Linked DNA regions of Homo sapiens: regions 1, 3 and 4 are each linked to region 2. The links are contacts of gene promoters, found by promoter capture Hi-C in human tissues and cell types (Jung and others, 2019). All regions are on one chromosome and are shown on one strand. Each heading gives the region's core, a stretch centred on a gene start or on the middle of the fragment in contact. The rest is flanking DNA. Distances are from core to core; before and after follow the strand shown. Region 1 overlaps CFAP46 (cilia and flagella associated protein 46). Region 2 holds the start of CALY (calcyon neuron specific vesicular protein). Region 3 has its middle 7.6 kb from the start of FRG2B. Region 4 overlaps LINC01166 (long intergenic non-protein coding RNA 1166).

Region 1 (2,984 bases), core at 135-2,634, 490 kb after region 2:
CTTGTGCAGATGCCAGCTCCTCCCCCGGAAGGCACCTGCCCCAGCAGAGAAGCTGGGCTCGTCCCCACACACCAGCTCCTAAGGAAGATGCCCTCAGGGACTGGAGCAACCACGCCATATGTGCCTGGCTCCATGCCCAGGGCAATCCCCCCACCAGGTGCCGTGCAGCCCTGGGTCGGCCCTGAAATGTCTGTCCTGCGTCTTCAGGACCTAGCACAGGACTTGATGTACCTCGAGTGAATTGATGGAATCGAGGCTCTGCATGCAACCAGCCTCCATTGGCCTGCTCAGGTAGCGGGTGGGTGTGGACCAGAAGCGAGGGTCGGCAGGGCCTCCTGTGAGCTGCGTCCTCATCCATGAATGCTGCTGATGGTGCTCCAGCGAGGAGGGGCCAGGGCAGAGCAGACGTCAAGTCCCGTGTGGAGGGCGCAGGGTTCTTCCGCGGCCCCCGCCCCATGCAGGCCAGGCCGGGACGTACCTGCCTTTTGCTGTCCTTAGATATGATTTATGTTGTTGTCCAGCTTCTTGAAATCAAAGCTTAAATCAAGGTTTTTCTGGGTTTTTTCTTGTATTCAAGGCTGTATTTTTCCTCTAACCCCCGTTTTAGTCTCCCAAGTTTTGATACGTAGGATCGACACGGTCTAGGGTTGCTGGTCACGTTGTCTAAGGTGTTATCCGAGCTCGTTGTCCATCGTCTCACAACCCAGAAAATTAAGGCGCGTGGACACAGGGAGAAGTTGCAGCGAAAGTTTAATAAGTGAAAGAAAAAAGCTCTCTGTGGCGGAGAGGGGGCCCGAGTGGGCTGCCATTTTCACAGTTGAATCCAAACGCTTTGATAAGAAAGTCCGCTGGTCTCTTTCGCTGTTCTTGTGACTTCCTTATCTGTGCCGCTGCGGGTGTGTCTTTAGGGAGCACAAAGCGCAGCCTCTCTTGTTTGTGCAGCTGTGGGTGTGTTTTGGATAAGCCCCCACCCCCTCCCACAACCCATGCAGGTTCCCTCGGAGCCCACCGTGTTCATGCCTGAAAAGGGGAGGAAACTTTCCCTGGCAGCCGGCTGATGACCTGGAGAACGAAGGCTTCTCTGCTGCCCTCCCTCCCCCCGACTCACCAGTGCTGCCGCAGCTTGGTTTTGCCTGGCAGCTCTCTCTCTGCCTGTGGCTGTGACATTTCAGGCTGTTTCTCCAAAGACCAGCCTTGGCTGTCGGCCTCACTGACTTTTCCTTTTCTCTTCCCTCAGTATTTTCATTCTCTAAGTCCGTTTTATAAATTCCATTGCAATTTCTTGTTTGACTGACTTGATGATTGTATCTTGTTTAATTTCAAGGCGACTGTTTCTCACGGGTCTATTTTCATGACTGACTTCCTGTTTAATGTCCTGGTGGTTGAAAACACACCGAGTGGTCTCGGTCCTGGGGACTCTGCAGTGGCTGCACGTGGTGCAGCCCTGGTTGGTTTTGGTAAATGTTCTGCACACGTCTGAACGGCGTGTGCTCCGTCGAGAAAGGGGCCAGGCTCCGTGCATGTCAGGCAGCCGTGCGTGTCAGGTGGCCACGGCTGCCCTGCCTCCAGCGTGCTTGCTGGTTTTTGCCTGCATTCAGGCAGCCTACTAGAACGGGGACATGTCCATCACTCCTTCTCCATTTCTATCAGTGTTTTTATTTTGACGCCTGATCATTGGGTGCATATATAGATTTGGTGCTGCGATACCTTGTGTCCCGAAAACCCAGGGGGCTCCCTCTCAACCCAGGTTCTTCAGGGGCTGCCAGGGCTTCCTATACCCAGGTGGGGCTTGTGTCTCAGCCAGATCAGGGGCCCCTGAGGGCTGGTGGATGCCTCAGCCTCAGTGCTGGCTGGTTCCGGGAGAGGTGTTTCCAAAGGACAGGAACGAGAGCCCCCTGGGAATGTGTTGGATTCCAGGCCCACGTGACTCAGGCCGGCTTCCTCAGGGGTCTGCGTCCTCACCCTGGCTGCAGCATCCCCTCGCCCAGGCTCCAGCGTCCCCTTGCCCAGGCTCACGGGTCAGGGCCACCCTGCATCAACTCAGGGATGGAGGGTTTGGGATAGTGAGAGGCCATGCTGTGGCCTGCGGTACCCCCTACCCGGGGACCCTGCTGAGGAGCCCGACCACCCCGGCCTCCCTGGGTGGGCCCTCCCCACGCCGACCAAGCAGGAACCCAGAAGTGTCTGCCAACCTGCAATGTGTGTCACAGGTGGGCGCCAAGCTGAGCGGCCTCAAGTCTCTGGAGCTGGAGGTAGAGGAAGAGGGTGCCACAAAGTCCAGCAGGGACCCGCCGGCCTCCAGGGCAGCCCCGGAGGAGCACTGCAGGAGAGGCGAGGACCTGAAGGTGCGGCTGCCCCTCCTGCCCCTCGTGTGGCCTCTGCCCGGAGCCTGGCCTGAGCCTGAGCCTTGTGCCCCACAGAGGAGGATGGTTCTGGCCCAGCAGTACCTGGCTCAGGCGTCAGAGGTGCTGCTGCAGTGCCTACAGGTGGCCCTTGGCAGTGGCCTCCTGGATGTCGCAGCAGCCGCCAGCCTGGAGATGGTGGAGTGTGTCGGCACCCTGGACCCTGCAACTACCTGCCAGTTCCTGGCTCTGTCTCAGGTGTGTCTCTGCCCTGCCCACCTCCAGCCAGGCCCTTCATGGAGGAGGGAGGACCCTGGGCTTCAGCTGGGGCCCTCGCCTTGGGGGGACTCCATTAGAGAAGCAGGCCGCAGGCCAGGGTCCTTAAGCAGTGGGAGCCTGCCGGCCACGTAAACTTGTGGCTCAGAGAGAACATGCATTCGTGTGCTTATCCCCGATCCCCTGCATCGGGCAGACATGGAGACCTGGCAGTCACAGGCCAGCAGGGCCCCGTCCATGCGGACCTCACAGAGGTCCCACAGAGGATCGGGCAGACACAGAGACCCGGCAGTCGCAGGCCAGCAGGTCCCTGTCCGTGTGGACCTCACAGAGGTCCCACAGAGGATCGGGCAGACACGGAGACCC
Region 2 (3,133 bases), core at 339-2,838:
GGTGTGTGTTTGGGTGTGTCTGGTGTGTGAGGTGTGTATTTCTGGGGTGTGTGTCAGGTGTGTGTCTGGGGTGTGGGTCAGGTGTGTGTATGTCAGGTGTGTGGTGTGTGTGTGTCAGGGATGTGTTTGAGGTGAGTGTGTTTGGGTGTGTCTGGTGTGTTTCTGGGGTATGTGTCAGATGGGCATCAGGTGTGTCAGGTGTGTGGGGGGGTGTGTTTGGGTGTTTCTGCTGTTTAAGGTGTGTGTTTCTGGGGTGTGGGTCAGGTGTGTGTGTCAGGTGTGGGGTGTGTGTCAGGGGTGTGTGTGAGGTGTGTTTGGGTGTCTGGTGTGTGAGATGTGTGTTTCTGGGGTGGGTGTCAGGTGCGTGTCGTGTATGTGAGATGTGTGGGTGTGTCTGGTGTGTGAGGTGTGTTTCTGGGGTGTCAGGTGTGTGTGTGTGAGGTATGTCTGGGGTGTGTGTGTGAGGTATATCTGGGGTGTGTGTGAATTGTGTGTTTAGATGTATTTGGTGTTTGAGGTGTTTCTGGGGAGAGTGTCAGGTGTGTGTGTCTGGGGTGTGTGTCAGATGTGTGTTTCTGGGGTGTGGGTCAGGTGTGTGGGGTGCGGGTTAGGTGTGTGGGGTGTGTCTCAGGTGTGTGTGTGTCTGGGGTGTGTGTGAGGTGTGTGTCTGGATGTGTCTGGTGTTTGAAATGTGTGTTTCTGGGGGCTGTCAGGTGTGTGTCAGCTGTGTGTGTGTCTGAGGTGTGTGTGAGATGTGTGTTTGGATGTCTGGTATTTGATGTGTGTATTACTAGGGTGTGTGTGTCAGGTGTGTGTGAGGTGTGTGTTTGGATGTATCTGTTGTTTGAGGTGTTTCTGGGGTATGTGTGTCAGGTGTGTGGGGTGTGTGTGTCAAATGTGTGCCTGGGGTGTGTATCAGGTATATGTGTTGTTGGGTGTGTGTGAGGTGTGTGTCAGGTGTATGTTTCTGGGGGTGTGTCAGGTGTGTGTGTCACGTGTGTGTCAGGTGTGTGTCGGGTGTGTGTGAGGTGTGTGTTTGAATGTGGTGTTTGAGGTGTGTGATTCTGGGGGTGTGTCGGGTGTGTCAGGTGTGTGTGTGTCTGGGGTGTGTGTGAGGTGTGTGTGGTGTGTGTGTCGGGTGTGTGTTGGGTGTGTGTCTGGGGTGTGTGTGTCTGGGGTGTGTTTGGATGTGTCTGGTGTTCGAGATGTGTGATTCTGGGGTGTGTGTGTGTCAGGTGTTTGGGGTGTTTGTGAGGTGTGTGTGTGGGGGGTGTTTGTGTGAGGTGTGTGTCTGGGATGTGTGTGAGGTGTGTGTTTGGATGTGTCTGGTGTTCGAGGTGTGGTTTCTGGGGATGTGTCAGGTGTGTGTGCATCAGGTGTGTGTATGAGGTGTGTGGTGAGGCCCGAGCAGGGTCTGAGGGGCGCATGCGCGGCTCCCTAGCCGGGGCGGTGGGTGGGGGTAGAGGGTGCGGGACCAGAGTCGAGGCCCCGCCTCTAGCCGCGTTTCCATGGCGACCACAGCCTCGGTCTCGCAGCTGCAGCCCCCGCCCCGCCCGGCCGCGAAGCGTCTGGAACCGCATCCTCCGCATCCACATCCGCATCGTCGTCCTCCCCGACCGCGTCCTGCAGCAGCTGCCAGTGGAGCCGCCTGTGAGCTATTTCCACATTTCTTGCAGAATGTGGGCGGGGGGCCCGAAGGGGTGCGGGGGTGCGAGGCGCGTGTGCGGGTGTGTGTGCGAGGTGCGTGTGCTCGCGAGTGCGCTTGTGCGTGGCGCGCGTGCGGATGAGGGTGTGAGTGCGTGTGTGCGAGGCGCGTGTGCGGGTGCGAGTGTGCAGGGCGCGCTGCACGGCCGCCCTCCTCCCTCGGGCCTCCTCTGGCTGCCCCAGGCCAGTCCGACCCCGCGGACCCGAGGGCGGTGGTCTCCAGGCTTCCCGTGACGGCGGGGCCCCGGCACGAGGATCGCAGCCTGGAGTTAAGGGTGTCTCCGAGGTGGGGAGGGGGTACCAGTCCCAGCTCCCGCCCAGCTCTGTCCGCCGGAGGCGGGGTGGGGAGGGCGACAGAAGGGGCGTCGGACCAGAGCACCGAGGAGCCGCTGCCCGCACGGGGGTTGGGGGTGGGCGGTGGGCTTGATGGGGGCGTCTGCGTGACAGGCAAGAGGTGGCCAGGAGGCCGGGAGGGGCGCGGCTCCGGAACCACCTGCAGCAGGCTCGGGTGCGGGGCCACAGGTGGCTGGGCTGGAAGCGGGAGCAGCTGCGCGCCCACTCCCCTCCGAGGGGCTGCGCCGACCCCGCAGTGCAGCTGCCTTTTAATAAGCGGGGCAGCCACAGCCCCCTGCAGCGCCAGGGGCGGGAGGCTGCGGTGGCGCCCGCGGGGGCTGGGCGGGACCCTCAGATCCGCAGTCACACGCGCTGGTGCCCGGCCCGCACAAGCCCACCTGCGCGCACCCCCCAGCGTGACGCAGCATTCCATGGTTGGGGGGGGCGCATGCGGAAGCGAGTCTGTGACGTGACCTCCAGCCGAGCTTCCGTGGACTTTCGACTGAGAGCCTGCACCCCCGCCCCCGCCATCCATCTGTCCATCTGCACGGCCTCACTCACCCGCGCCCCCACCCATCTGCCATCAGCATCCCACGCCTTCCCCGCCCCAGAGACAGGAGCCGGGCACTGCCTCCCTGCCAGAGCGCGGCGGGTGGGGCGCAGGGGACCCGCAGAAGATGCCGCGACAGCGCAGGTGCAGGGAGGGGCCGGGAGGAGAAGCAGAGGCGGCCCCCCAGTTCCACGAGCCGCGTGTCATCCGTGGGAGGAGGCCCCCATGACGCAGCAATGCAAAGGGAAGGTCTGGTGTGTGGGGTGGGGGGGTTGGACCCCACACACAGGCTAGTCCCCCCTTTCCAACCCCGCATTCCGCCCGGGGCGCTGGGCCCGGAACCAGAAGCGAGGCTCCAGTGGGCCCCCAATGGCTTTTTCTTCCTGAAGACGCGTCTCGGGCCTGTCTGCGTTGCCATGGAAACCCGCGATGACGTAAATTGGCCGTCCGAGGAGTTGGATTTGAAGTTTGGCTCGAAGGGGACCCCTCAAGCGCAGCTCCTCCTGGCGGGGGTCCTGCCCGAGCGGGGGTTCGGGCGGAGACTCC
Region 3 (3,178 bases), core at 219-2,718, 280 kb before region 2:
GTGTATATAACTCTCTAAGAAGCTGCCAAACTGTTCTCAAATTATGCATTTATCAAAACCCACAGTATAAGCTAAAAGAGTGTTTTATTCTATGCAAATTAAGAAATGAATTTTTTAAAACCTACAGGTTTGGCAGTAAATGTGGTTGATGGTTGAGGTTGACCCCCTACCCCTGAATGTTGATTTTATTCTACTAGGGATGCTCAGTAAGGCATCAGGGCATGACATCCCCTGGAGATGAAGCAGTCCCCAGATCTGCAACTGGCCAGCTGGAACCCCGAAAGAGCTGATGGAGTTCATCCCAGTCTGAAGGCTGGGCACTCAAGACCCACAGAGCCTGTGCTTAGGTTCAAGTCCAAAGCCTGGAAAAGACCAAGGTCACAGCTCAAGGCAGCCAGGCAGAGCATGTCCCCAGCAACCCCCAGGACACATCAGTGGAAGCTGGAGGATGCCGGCCGCCTGGGCCTGGAACCTCAGAGCCTGCATTGAGGTTAATTTCACATGTCCGTCTGACGGGCCCACAGAGGACAGACATTTGGCCAAACATTATGCTGGGTATGCAAGAGGGGGCTCTGGGTGAGATTGACATTTGAATTAGTGCAAAGCTTTGGGAAAGCTTTTCAGTCCAAATGGCTGGCCTCAATTAGCATGGATGTGAACAAATCGGCAGACCTCCATGAGGACTGCTATGAACATTGGACCTGGCTCTAATGTGAGTGACAGAACATCTTAGCTGACTTACATGAGAACCACAGGGAATAACTGTACAGGACCCATGAGGACAGCTGTGAACACCTGGGCTGTGCACAATGAAGACAGCTACGAAAAGGTCGGTTGAGCTCAAGGAAAACAGCTCTTAAGCCCTGGGCAGGTCCCCCATGAACAACCAGCCAGAACACCTGGGCTGGCTGCCTTATTGATTGTTATGAACACCTTAGATCACCCAAATGAGAATGGCTGTGAACAACTGGGCCAGACCCAATGTTGACAGCTGTGAAAACCTGAGGGGGCCGAAAGAGGACAGCTATAAACACGGGGATTGGCTTGGATAAAGGTAGCTATAGTATCTTGGCTGGCCCAGTGAGCATGGGGTGAACACACTGGCTGGCCCTCAGGAGGATGGCTGTGATTAAGTGGGCTGTGCCTAGTGAGGACAGCTGTGAAGAACTTGGCTAGAAACAAAGAAGATGGCTATGGACAACTGGGGAGGCTGAGATGAGGGAAGCTGTTAGCAGCGGGGCTGGTCCCAATGAAGACAGCTATGAACACCTGAGACGGGTCAGATGCAAACGGCTGTGAGCACTGAGCTGCACCCACTAAAAAAAATTTAACAACTGGGTTTTCCCCAATGAGGAAGGTTGTGAACACCTGGCCTGCACCCAGAGAGAACAGCTTAGAACACCTGGATTGACCCGATGAGGATGGCTGTGAACACTGGTCTAGGCTGAGAAGGACAAGCGTTAACACCTGAGCTTGCTACTGACTGTGAACGCCTTGGCTGGGCCCCACGAGGAAAACTTTAAATACCTGGGCTGGACACAGTGTGGACAGATGTGAACACCTAACCTGGGTCCTGTGAAGGCAGCTATGAAAACGTAGGCATGGCCCAGTGAGTGCAGCTGTGAACACCTGGCCTGGGTCCAATGAGAACAGTTGAGAACACTTGGGCTAAGCCAGTAAGAACAGCTGTGGCATCGGGGCTGATTGCCACGAAAACAGATGTAAACACCTTGGCTGGTCTCCACTAGCACAGCTGTGAATGGCTAGGCTGGGCCCAATGAAAACAGCCAAGAACACCTGGTGTGGGGTCAACGAAAGCCATTGTGAGCGTTTGGGCTTGCCACAATGAAGATGGCTATAAACACCTGGCTGGGCCCAAGATGAATGGCTGTCAACATCTAAACTCACCCCGACAAAGACGGTGTGAACAGCTGGGCTAATCCCACTGAGGACCACTATTAACGCCTGGGCTGGGCCCAAGCGGGGGCGACTTCAGCTGGACCTGGAAAGGATGGCTGTGAACACCTTGGCTTCTGACGAAGATGGCTATGAACCCCTGGCCTGGGTATGAACACCTTTGCTTCTGACAAAGATGGCTATGAACCCCTGGCCTGGGCCCAATGAGGAAAGCTGTGAACACCCGCACTGGCCCCAGTGAGGGAAGCTGGGAAAACCTGGGCCGGGTCCAGTAAAAGCAGCAGTGAACACCCAGGCTGGCCACAGTGAACGCCCAGGCTGGCCACAGTGAGCGCCCAGGCTGGCCACAGTGAGCGCCCGGGCTGGCCACAGGACAGCTTTGAACACGGACACTGACCATCATCATGAGGACGGCTGTGGATGCCTGGGCTGGCCCAGATGAGGAGCACTATTAACTCCTGAGCTCGCACCCAGTTAGAACAGCCGTGAATACCTGGTCATGCCCACGTAATGACAGCAATGAACAACTGAGCTCAGCCAATGGGAACGGCCGTGAACACCTGTGCTGAGACAAATAAGGATAGTTGGGAACACCTGAGCTGGCCCCAGTGAGGATGACTATGGATACCTGAGCTGTGGGCAATGGGGATGGCTATGTATACCATGGTTCAGCCAAATGACAGCTTTGAAAAATGTGGCTGGCACCAGCGAGTACGGCTGTGAAAGCATAGGCTGCTCCCAGTAAAGGCAGCTTTGCATACCTGGGCTGGGCCCAGTGAGATTGGATGTGAACATCTGGCCTACTGCTGCAAACACCTGTTCTGGGACAAATGAGGATGCCTATGAATACCCGGGCTGGGCCCTAGGAGAACAGCTCGGATTAACTGTGCTGGGCCCAAAACATATGGCTACGAACACCTGGGCTGACCCCAGTGTGGACAGCTATAAAGACCTGGGCTGGGCTCAGGAGGACAGCTGTGCCATTTTGGCTGCATCCAATGAGGACAGCTGTGGATATCTGCACCTGGCCCCATTAAAACAGCTGTGAACACCTAGCCTATCCCCATTGAGGACACAGGTTAACACCTGGCCTGGGACCATGGGAACTGCTGAGAACACCTGGATTAAGTCCAATGAGGAAAGCTTTGAACACCTGGGCTAGGCCCACTGAGGACAGCTGTGGACACATGGGCTGGCCCCAGTGAGGATGGCTGTCAGTACCTGGGATGGCCTCTTGAGGGTGGTTGGCCCCAATTAGCAT
Region 4 (3,145 bases), core at 316-2,815, 380 kb after region 2:
TGATAATAACTGTTTCAACCAATTGCCAATCAGAAAATCTTTGAATCTGCCTACGACCTGGAAGCCCCCTCCCCCTTCTCATTGACCCACCTTTCCAGACTGAACCAACACATCTTAGTGTACTGAGATGCATCTCCTTTGAGTGTATAAAACCAGGCTGTGCCCCGGCCACCCTGGGCGCATGCCCTCAGGGTCTCCTGGGGCTGTGTCACGGGCCATGGTCATTCGTATTTGGCTCAGAATAAATCTCTTCAATTATTTTACAGAGTTTGACTCTTTTCATCAACAGTGTTAGCAGTGACCAGCCAGAGAGACAAGGGGAGGGAAGAAGAAATGAGTTCTCCCATACAGCCCACCTCCTCCACTGCCCACACGGCCATTCCCTGCTCTGACCAGTGTCCCCAGGCATCTGGGGTTTGGAGTGGAACCTACCATGCCTGCTGGTTCACTATTTTCTCAGAGCTGTTTAAAAAGAAAAAAAGAAAAAAAATGACCACAACGAAACTGCTAAACCACCTGATAATTAAAGCAAGAAAAACAAATCAAAGAAAATGTCAATGCACAAAATTAGGACTGGGAACGTGAGACTGACCACAGACAGAGAGAATTAAAGTGCTTGATGCTCAGATCCTTGGATAATGTTTTGCACAACTCTTTGCTAATGATTTGAAGTTAGGAGGCAATGCAGCTTTTAAGGAAAATTAAGATGGGCAGGGTGGACTTTTGGATGGCCCAGTGACTGTGGATAAACTGGGAGAGCTCCGGGTGAGACCAGAGCTGAAGAGAGGTCCGTGGATCTCACTTCCCCAGCAGGGCATCCACAGCCATCTCAAGAGGATGCATCCTTCCTCCATGGGACTCCGGGATTTTCTGGCTTTCCAGGGCCTGCATTTCAGAGGGCAGGCTTTTCCTGCCCTGCCACACCCTGCAGTACCTGCACCTGCACCCCTTCCTGCATGCCGCCCTCTCTCTCTGCACACCTCAGCTGGGAGGGAGGAGAAAGAACAGAGTGAGTGATCCCTATTTGTGGGATTTCAGGACATTGGCAAAAGCTTCCATTCCAAATACAATATCCAGCCCCCTCTGAGTGGTGTCTAACCTCCACACTTAGAGACTTTTTCCTTTGACTGAAGCAAAACCATGCTGCCACTCACTTCTCAGGGGGTGCCAGCCCTGGGAAGGGGTGTTCCTGGAAAGGTCTGCACACTGGGCTGCACAAGGTGTTTCCCTCCAAGAGTGGAGAAGAGTGGGGTTTGGAGTCCTCACGCTCCAGGGTCATGGCCGCTGAGACTGGAGGAGCTGCATTAGTCCCGTCTGAATTCCGTGATTTGGGCAGAATTGCACTTGCCACGTTGAGCACACGCTCCAGCAAACCCCTGTGCTCTGCGTTATAGGAGGTTCTACAACAGGCAACTCTGGTCTGTGGTGGCTGAAGTCAGAGCACAGGTGCCCCAGGGCAGGGTAGGGCCAACTGGGAGGGGCACAGGGGCCTCTGTGGGGTGACAGGGTGGTTTCCGTCCTGAGGGGTGTGGGTGACCACGTGCACACACTTCCAAAACTCACGGAAACGCAGCACTTACCACCTGTTCGTTTTGCTGCATGTAAATTATACCAAAATAAAGGAAGCAGTGAAGGAGCAGGGAAAAGGCAGGTTTGTGATCTTCCTCGCCAGGGCTGGCTTCAAGGAAACAAGTGCTGACCGAGACAGATGGGCACTTGGTGGTAGCAAAGGATATGAGCCACAGAGAAGCCCCAGCAAACCCCTGTGCTCCGAATGGGATGGAATTGGCATCTGCTGAGAGTGAGTGACAGAGCCAAAGGGTGTGCAGGGAGAGCCAGACAGACACTTCAGAGGCCTGAAGAGCGTCGTCAGTAACACAGTTCTAACCAATATTCATCGAAGGCCTTTCAAGTGCCCATGGAACAATCACAAAAATGGATGGCGTATCGAGGCCCAGAGGAAACCACGAATTCCAAAGCATACACACCGCCAGGCGACGTTCACCAATCCCAGCGCAGTACCACTGCCGGTTGAAGTCAATACCGTGAAGCGGAAAACCTCACCATCTGAACATTTTTTAACTCTCTAACATAACTATTAAGCCAAAAGAAAATAAAGTTCTCTTTACAGAATATCTAGAAAACAATGAAGAAGAAAATCCACGTTCAAGAAAATATCTCCAAAGTTTGAAATTGAGGAAAATTAGTGGTGAGTGATTTTAGTATCACAGCAGAGCACTCTCCCCTCCCTCGGAAAATGCGGCCTCACTGCCTTCCCGCTTACGGCCCCCAAGGCTGCCGTACTGCAGCCCCATGAAACTGGAGGGCGTCTTACAGAAAGGTGATAATGCGGAAATTTTTTTGGAGAAGATAACCCTAGAGGTTACGCTTTTTGTAGGACATGAACCAGGTTTGGACCTAACTTATCTAATGATCTCATAACCCCAAAATAAAATTCTAAGACCCCCCCCCCCAGTTGACTGGACTCCCTCTGGGCCAAGGGGACCCCAGGAAACCTGAAAAACTGGATTATTGATGAGAAGGGAGGCTGGGCTCCCCCTCCCTGTTGGAGCTTAGGCACAGCTGACCAGCATTTATACTAAAGTAGAGATCATAAGACTGACAAATAGACTTTTTGTGGCAATTAGATACCAAATTCCAACCTGACTCTGGCATAGCATTGCATGACAGCAGATAGCAGACCCTAAAGAAAAGCACAGTATTTTACTCCCAAATATGTTTCTTTGACATGTTTTGAAATGGCTGGGAAAAGTGCACTCTTGTAGGGGAAAATTGTGTCTATAGAGAGTGGCCTTCCCTTACTAGGTCCTTTCCTGATCCGGGAGAGATTTACCTAAGAGATTTATGGCACCTTTTAAGGTCCAGAAAGAGATGTTTATCATCTACTCTCTCTGAAGCTACTTCATGTATGAAACAAAAATTACCTTGACTTCCACAACCTCCGATCTTAAGCATTTCTTTCTGCTGACTTCAACTGTAAGCAAAGCTTAACTTTTTCAACCAATTGCTAATCATAAAATCTTTGAATCCACCTAAGACCTGAATGCCCCTGCGCTGCCTGGCTTCAAGATGTCTCACCTTTCCAGGCTGAACCAATGTACACCTTATATGTATTGATTTGCCT

The links. Contacts are between HindIII fragments. The study calls those that stand out against the background at their distance.
Region 1: a fragment that was not itself captured here is called in contact with the fragment with the promoter of CALY in region 2 in 1 of the 25 tissues and cell types used here (mesendoderm cells).
Region 3: a fragment that was not itself captured here is called in contact with the fragment with the promoter of CALY in region 2 in 2 of the 25 tissues and cell types used here (lymphoblastoid cells and mesendoderm cells).
Region 4: a fragment that was not itself captured here is called in contact with the fragment with the promoter of CALY in region 2 in 1 of the 25 tissues and cell types used here (dorsolateral prefrontal cortex).

The regions. Positions count from the first base shown.
Region 1 is chr10:132,846,548-132,849,531 of GRCh38, reverse strand. CFAP46 (cilia and flagella associated protein 46) reads left to right here. Exons shown (of 58, transcript NM_001200049.3): 42 at 2,211-2,345; 43 at 2,421-2,600. It also overlaps LOC105378571. Among named protein-coding and RNA genes, the nearest start is that of NKX6-2, 62 kb to the right of the region's middle. The HindIII fragment of the contact is 4,039 bases long and covers 1-2,984 here.
Region 2 is chr10:133,335,351-133,338,483 of GRCh38, reverse strand. It overlaps CALY (calcyon neuron specific vesicular protein), which reads left to right and starts at 1,588. Exons shown (of 6, transcript NM_015722.4): 1 at 1,588-1,650. The region is part of intron 5 of ZNF511-PRAP1 (ZNF511-PRAP1 readthrough); the gene reads right to left. RefSeq lists an enhancer at 2,658-3,133. The HindIII fragment of the contact is 49,503 bases long and covers 1-3,133 here.
Region 3 is chr10:133,617,598-133,620,775 of GRCh38, reverse strand. No RefSeq gene overlaps it. Among named protein-coding and RNA genes, the nearest start is that of FRG2B, 7.6 kb to the left of the region's middle. The HindIII fragment of the contact is 3,524 bases long and covers 1-3,178 here.
Region 4 is chr10:132,950,400-132,953,544 of GRCh38, reverse strand. All of the region lies in intron 1 of LINC01166 (long intergenic non-protein coding RNA 1166), which reads left to right. Among named protein-coding and RNA genes, the nearest start is that of CFAP46, 9.4 kb to the right of the region's middle. The HindIII fragment of the contact is 6,557 bases long and covers 1-3,145 here.